Linked DNA regions of Homo sapiens: region 2 is linked to region 1. The links are contacts of gene promoters, found by promoter capture Hi-C in human tissues and cell types (Jung and others, 2019). All regions are on one chromosome and are shown on one strand. Each heading gives the region's core, a stretch centred on a gene start or on the middle of the fragment in contact. The rest is flanking DNA. Distances are from core to core; before and after follow the strand shown.

The links. Contacts are between HindIII fragments. The study calls those that stand out against the background at their distance.
Region 2: a contact is called between a fragment that was not itself captured here and the fragment with the promoter of OR9Q1 in region 1, in 1 of the 25 tissues and cell types used here (neural progenitor cells).

Annotation. Positions count from the first base shown.
Region 1 is chr11:58,022,379-58,025,800 of GRCh38, reverse strand. It overlaps OR9Q1 (olfactory receptor family 9 subfamily Q member 1), which reads right to left and starts at 1,920. Exons shown (of 3, transcript NM_001005212.4): 1 at 1,697-1,920. It overlaps LOC107984331 (a long non-coding RNA gene), which reads left to right and starts at 1,382. Exons shown (of 3, transcript XR_001748218.1): 1 at 1,382-1,714; 2 at 2,777-2,961. The HindIII fragment of the contact is 7,062 bases long and covers 1-3,422 here.
Region 2 is chr11:57,976,014-57,979,604 of GRCh38, reverse strand. No RefSeq gene overlaps it. Among named protein-coding and RNA genes, the nearest start is that of OR9Q1, 46 kb to the left of the region's middle. RefSeq lists a silencer at 534-828. The HindIII fragment of the contact is 3,369 bases long and covers 222-3,590 here.

The DNA of each region.
Region 1 (3,422 bases), core at 671-3,170:
GGAGAGCACAGTGGTTAAGGCTACATTCAGGCATTAGACCACCTGATGCCTTCAAATCTCAGCTCCACCACCTTCTAACTGAAATCAAATGAAAGCAACCTAGATGGGAGGCAATGCCTAACCCAACGGAATGAATATCTGATGGAATCATTGAAGTCATCAGAGACAAGTCTAATGAGAAACTCTTTCTGAGCGAGAGTTCCAGAGCATCCAAATTCTACTCCTCTTCCCCCCTGCCCCAACACGTCTTCGGGTCATGTGTTGGTAGGAAGATGAGCTTCTCTCCAAAAAGGGAGAAAGGAGGCCGGGCGCAGTGGCTCACGCCTGCAATCCCAACACCTTGGGAGGCTGAGCGGGCGGATCACAAGGTCAAGAAATCAAGACCATCCTGGCCAACACGGTGAAACCCCGTCTCTACCAAAAATACAAAAAGTAGCTGGTCATGGTGGCGTGCGCCTGTAGGACACACCCTATAGTAGCACGGCGGGCACCCCAGCTACTCAGGAGGCTGAGGCAGGAGAATCTCTTGAACCCGGGAGGCGGAGGTTGCAGTGAGCTGAGATCGCGCCACTGCACTCCAGCCTGGCGACAGGGCAAGACTCCGTCTCAAAAAGAAAGGGTCATTTACGGAGCCCCTCCCATGGGCTAGATTCTGATGGGCTGATACCATCTGGCTTAATCCCCACAATATTGTACTATGATCCTATGAACTATTCTTGATATAGAGGTGTTATTTGTCTTGGTTTTCACGCAATTGAAATCACTGAAGGCTCAGAGAGACAGTAAGTAAACTTGGGCAAGATCAAAGAACTACATGGCACAGAGAAGAGCCAAACCCCAGAGCTTCTGACAAAAAAAGCCTCCACACCGTGCCATTTTCCTCTGCCATCTCATTTCACCCAATGACAACGTGCCTGCAACCCTGGCTCCCTGCCCTGACTCTGAGGTTAATTTCCCTGCAGCTCGGAGCCCCGCCAAGGCTGGAGGAATATCCCACAGGCTCCAGTGAGCTGCAAAGCACAGTCACACTCCCAGGGCTATTAACAGCATCCGCTTCCTCTCCAAGGTTCAGGGAACTTTATCCACCAAGTGCCATGCAGGAAAAAAGAGGTCAGCCAGAGAGGAGAGGGTCACACGGGGCAATCACTAAATAAGGAGAAAGGCCGCACAGGAACTTGGCCCAATTTGGTGTCCTCAAAAGACGGTGCTCCCTGGCCAAGATTTTCCCTAACAAATATGGAAAAACAGTTTGAGGCCCATGCACGAAAATTGAAACTTGGTTCCTGTAGCTATTTGCTTGTGTAGCTACGTGACAAGCCTGGTGAGAAACGCTGGATTTCTCCCTCTTTCAGTTCTCTCCACCTGGCATCTGGGGGCCTAGTCCCAAAAAGTGAAAGGAACTGGAAAATAAACTTACTAAGATCCAGGAAATGATTTCAAAAAAAAACAGCCAACAAACCGAGGTGAGCAGGCGCAGTGGGTGGGTGTTATGAGACAGACAGCGGGGCTAGGAGATGCCCAGGATGAAGCCCGGAGACCTGCTCTCTGATTCCTCTTGGGTCTAGCTCATCACAGCCTGCTTCCCCACTCCCACTGCAACGTGACAGCAACAGCACATCTCACTTTCCAACATGCAGACAGCCCCCTGTGTTAACAGCACCGTCTCTGAAATCAGTGGAGCTGCATTTGACCCTACCTCCGTCAGGCCGTAGCTGTGAGTTTGGGAAAGGCGTTTGATCTTTCTGAGCCTCAGTGTCTTCATCTTCAAACGGGAAGGATAACATGTACATTGCTGGGCTGGACTAAAGATGGAAGGAGACATCATTAAGGGAAAGTTAGGGCCTTTGCTCCTTTCGCTCCCTCTACCATCTCTGTGTGGCATCCTCCTGCACTTCTTCAATTCCCTGCACAAGGGCCACCTTAACAGAGAGGCCCTTTCTGACCACCTATCTGAAAACGCAGTTCCTTTCACTCTCTGACCCTCTTCTCAGTTTGATTTTTTGGGTCACAGCTTCATTGCCATCTGGTAGATATTTATTTGTTTGTCTATAACATCACGCACACACACACACACACACACACAAAAGGAAGCTCCTTGAAGATAGTGCCTTTGTTTGTTTGTTCATTACTGTGTTGCTAATGCCAAAGTCACTGACATGTAGTCTACATGCAATAAATATATACTGATGTAATAAAAGGGTGGCTGCATGCTCCTGATTGTACGTTGGCAGCGTACTTAGTTTCCTTTCCATTTCTAGCTACCTGTTTTTAAGGAAATTTAAGGAAAAGGAAGTTCAACAATACTTACAGAAAAGTCAATCAATTTGGGTGTTGTCCATGCAATTACTGTCAACGGACTACAAGACTGACAATGCCTGCAGGAATGATGTCTTGTATATCTGGAGCAGCCTGCTCTCATGGCCTTGGGTGGGAGGCAAATTGAATTGATTTCTACATATAATTTCTTTTTCTTAGCTACAGAATTTAATTCTAAATTTCCCGGAAAGCTGTACTCTATCAGCTGTTTTCAAACTCTGTTCCACCAAGCCCTAGGTTTGCTTAGTTGCCAGGTAGCTGGGAAGAGGAAAGGACCTAGTATGTGGGGCTCTCAAAATCCCTGCTTCAACCAGCTAGTAAGTGACAGAGTCCAGATGAGAATCCAGCCCAGTCTGACTCCAGAGCCCACCATCTTTCCATCATACCACCTCCCCAGGGAGGGTGATATTCCTAAAATAAAATCTGATCAATTAACTGGGCGCTTCTCTCATTATTCCAGGACTTCAATACTGAGCAGATACAATCTGTTCCTCAAAGCTACTGACATATAGTCTGCCTATGATGGGAACAAATGGGAAACTGAGGTATAAGAAAATAAGTGGGAGGCTTCTCCAGCCATATATGTGACAGAGACCCCAGACCCAAACCAAGCCAGAGAGTCCACTATAGCAGACAGGAACCAAGGTGAGAATCAAGCTTTCTGAGCTTCTAGCTCTTAATCTCTAGGCAGCAATAATATCTATTCTTGTTGTCTCTCAGAACATTCTGTGAATTGATGAGATAGTGGATGTGCGGGTTCTTTGAAACTTTAAAGGTACACTCTGGTAAAACCTGCTTACTCTTTTGCTTCTATTGCTTATGGACTATGCGATGACCACAGAATTTCAATAAAGGGACAGCATGGGAATGGCCATCTGGTGGGACTCTGGGAATGGTCATGAAGCTGCCCTGGAATAACAAAAGCAAATTGATTTTGTTTAGATTGTAGGTTTGAGGTGGCTTGAGGAGGCAGATGGAGATGAAGGAGAACTAAAACCCCACAAAGTCCCTCGGCACCCCTACTCTATAAGAGCTTAAGCAAATCAGTTGAATTCTGTGTGCCTCCATTTTCTCACTTGAAAACTGAATTGATATTTAAAACCACA
Region 2 (3,591 bases), core at 657-3,156, 46 kb after region 1:
AAATGCAAAAGCCATAAAGTTCCCAAGAAGGTGAGGCTGTCTGATTTAAACAATGTACTATCTTCTTAGTTTCAGACTGACCTGTAATAAATCTCAGCTCAAGTCATTTGTTGAACTTTTATGTCTATTTTTGTTTTTTTCAAACTGTGTGGTCAACATCAGATTCATTAGATTGAATGCAAATAAGGCATCTGTCTGAGTCACAGACATGAAGCAGTCACAAGTTTACCACCAGGCTGTTTCTCTGCTGATTCTGATGAGTCTTCTGAGAAGCAGTTGCTCTAGTTTTCATTTCTATGGTCCTGATCTTGCAATCTCTCACATTCTCCATGCTCAAGGTCTTGCCTAGAGATAAGTCTGCAAGCCCATGTCCAAGACCTATCAAAAATTGTCTTTATTGCTACTAGATATCCATCCCCACTTCTTCCTTACTTACAGAAAAGCAATATTTTTGAGTATCTGGCAGCAATATTCCAAGCTGAAAATTATATGTTCCAGCCTCCCTTACAGGTGTCCCTGAGATCTGGCCAGCGAAGCCCAAGTGAAAGTTGCCTGTGGATTTTCTAGGACTGTTTTATTTTCCTAACATGAAACTTATCTCTTCTTTTGCATATTCTTCTTTTTCTGCTGCCTGGCGCTCCACTCAGCAAATGGTCAGTTAATGAGTACCTGCCATTCTTCCAAGCTATGGCGATATAGCAGTAAGCAAATATCCTTGCCCTTGTTGTGTGTACATTCTAGTGGACCATCTTGCAGTAAGAAGGAAAGCAAATAGAATCACAATCAGCCTCAGCTTTGACATTTCAAAGCACCTGAACCAAAGATGGGAACTTACTTGAGAAAAATAAAATCTCATTTAGTCATATTTTCAGTTACTTGCAACTGGACACAATTACTAAACATACTACTGCCTTTTTTGTTGGTGGGTGGGGGGTCGGGGGGACGGAGTCTTGCTCTTTGTCACTCAGGCTGGAGAGCAGTTGCACGATCTCAGCTCACTGCAACCTCGGCCTCCCAGGTTCAAGCAATCCACCTGCCTCAGCCTCCTGAGTAGCTGGGATTACAGGCACCCACCACCATGCCCAGCTAATTTTTGTATTATTAGTAGAGATGGGGTTTCACCATGTTCGCCGGGCTGGTCTTGAGCTCCTTACCTTAAGCGATCCACCTGCCTCAGCCTCCCAAAGTGCTGGGAATACAGGTGTGAGCCACTGCACGCAGCTGCCTTTCTTTCTTTAACTACAGGTAAGTTCCTTTATAGTTAAGATATCTGGAAGACACCTTGATGGAATAAAATGGTTTCTCAACCTCAACACTCTTGACATTTTGAACCAGATAATTCTTTGTTGTGGAGCTGTCCTAGGCACTGTAAGATGTTTGGCTGCATTCCTGACATCTACCAACCAGATGCCAGTAGCCGCATCCCCCTCCCAAGATATGACAATCAGAATGTCTCTAGACATTGTCAAGTGTTCCCTGAAAGCCAGATTTTCCCTGGTTGAGAACCACTCGCATATGGATGGTGGTGCTGGCAGAGCTAAGGCAAGCAACAAAAGCCAACCCAAACCCAGAGTATTTGGAAACAAAGCATTACTTCCTCCATCGTGGAAAGAATCCAATACAGCTAATCTACCTCTGGGGAGCTGGCTGCCCTTCCCCCCACCCTCCAGTTATCACAGCATTCCAAGAGCTCAGGGCCACTTGGCCACTGCTGCCAACAGTCCCTGCACTCCACCACAGCAGGTCAGACTTGGTGAGAGGAAAAGGGTTGTTGAGTACAGGCACAGCCTCCCTTCCTGCCACCACACTCACTTTGTGAGCACTGAGGTATCTGGGATACCCCAATTTTTGTGAGCATTGGGATATCTGGGAAAGGAGTCTAACATCTCACAGAGTGGGCCATCCATCCTACTTACGTAGTCACAAAGGCCCCCTCTGTATCAAGGCCTTGTGGCAAGCATTCATGTGGGCCACAAATAGCTCCTCACTTCACATTTACCTGAGAGGTCAGTTCACAGACACCTTCACAGGCCTCCTCAGCCATTTCCCAGTCTTGCTTCTTCCAAACCCTTAACCATCAGAGCGTGTCTTTGTCTATTTGGGCTGCTATAAAAACCAAATACCTGAGACTGAGGGGCTCATAACAACAGAAATTTATTTCTTCCAATTCTGGAGATTGGGAAGTTCAAGATCAGGTGCCAGCACGGTCAGGTTCTGGTGAGGGCCTGCCCCTGGATTGCAGACTGCCAGCTTCTTGCTGTGTCCTCACATGGTGGAAGGGACAAGGCAGCTCTCTGGGGTCTCTTTTATTATAAGGGCATTAATCTCACTCATGAGGACTTCACCCTTGTGACCTAACTACCTCTAAAAGGCCCCACCTTCTAATACCACCACCTTGGGGGTTAGGATTTCAGCATGTGGATTTGCAGGAGACACAAATATTCAGACCAGAGTACAGCCCAATTGCAAGTCAGGGGTTATTTCCTTTTTTTTTTTTTTTTTTAAAAAAAAGAAAAAAGTTCTTTGCTGAAAGAGGTGACTTTCCTCCAAAATCCTAGCAAGCCAATTTGTCCCATGCAGCTTACAAAATTTGCTGGGTCTTAAGAGCCTAGCTGCAGAGCCAATCAACTTAAAAGCTTTTACCCCCTGGAGATGCTTTCCCCTGGCCCAGCTCTCATCAAACCTGGTGGCTTTTCAGATCACCCAGTAAATAGGTCAAATAGGTGTTAAATGTTATTCATAGTGATTTACTAGGAACTACATCAGGATGAGTAGTGTGGTGTGTGTGAAAGTTAATTTTATTCAGCCTCTTAGGGCTAGCTGATTGGCATAAAGAATATTAGAAATAACTTTCACTAGAGAAATTAAAGTTTAAGACACGGTTTACTTCGAAACCACCAATGTGATGATTGATGCAGGTTAGGATTATCAATGGGTGCTAAATCAGTCTCAGAGTATCACCCCACAGGTCGCTTTTTAATAACAAAGAGAAAAAGATACCTAATGGAAATAAAATCTGGCAGACATCAACTTAATTATGTAAACAAATTAATACCACCAGTAATGGGGAAAAAATGACATTTTGTGTCTCCTACATGAGAAGAACACATTATCTGTGTAGAGTTCTTGCCAAAAATATCTAGCCTAAATCTAATCATAGGGAAAAATTCGAGAAGTTTAAATTATAGAGCATTATGCAAAAACACTGGTCTGGACTCTTCAGAACTTTCAGTATTCCAAAATAAAAGTTTTAAAAATCTAGATTAAAATTAAATTTAAAAACTAATGGACACGATAACTAAATGCAATGAATAATCCCTGATTGGACCTTAGATTCAAAATAAATAGATATATTATTTTATTATTAAAACAATTGGGAAAATTTGAATTTGAGTATAGACTGCATATTAAATTTCTTAAACATGATCATGTAATTGTGGTTATGTAAGAGAATGGCCTTCTTCTTAGCAGCTAGTATTTAAGGTGAAGTGTTTAAGGGTAAAGCATCATAATGTTCCAACTACTTTCAAGTAGTTTGGAAAAAGATACATAAGCATAAACTCACATGTTCATCAACAGATGAATGGATAA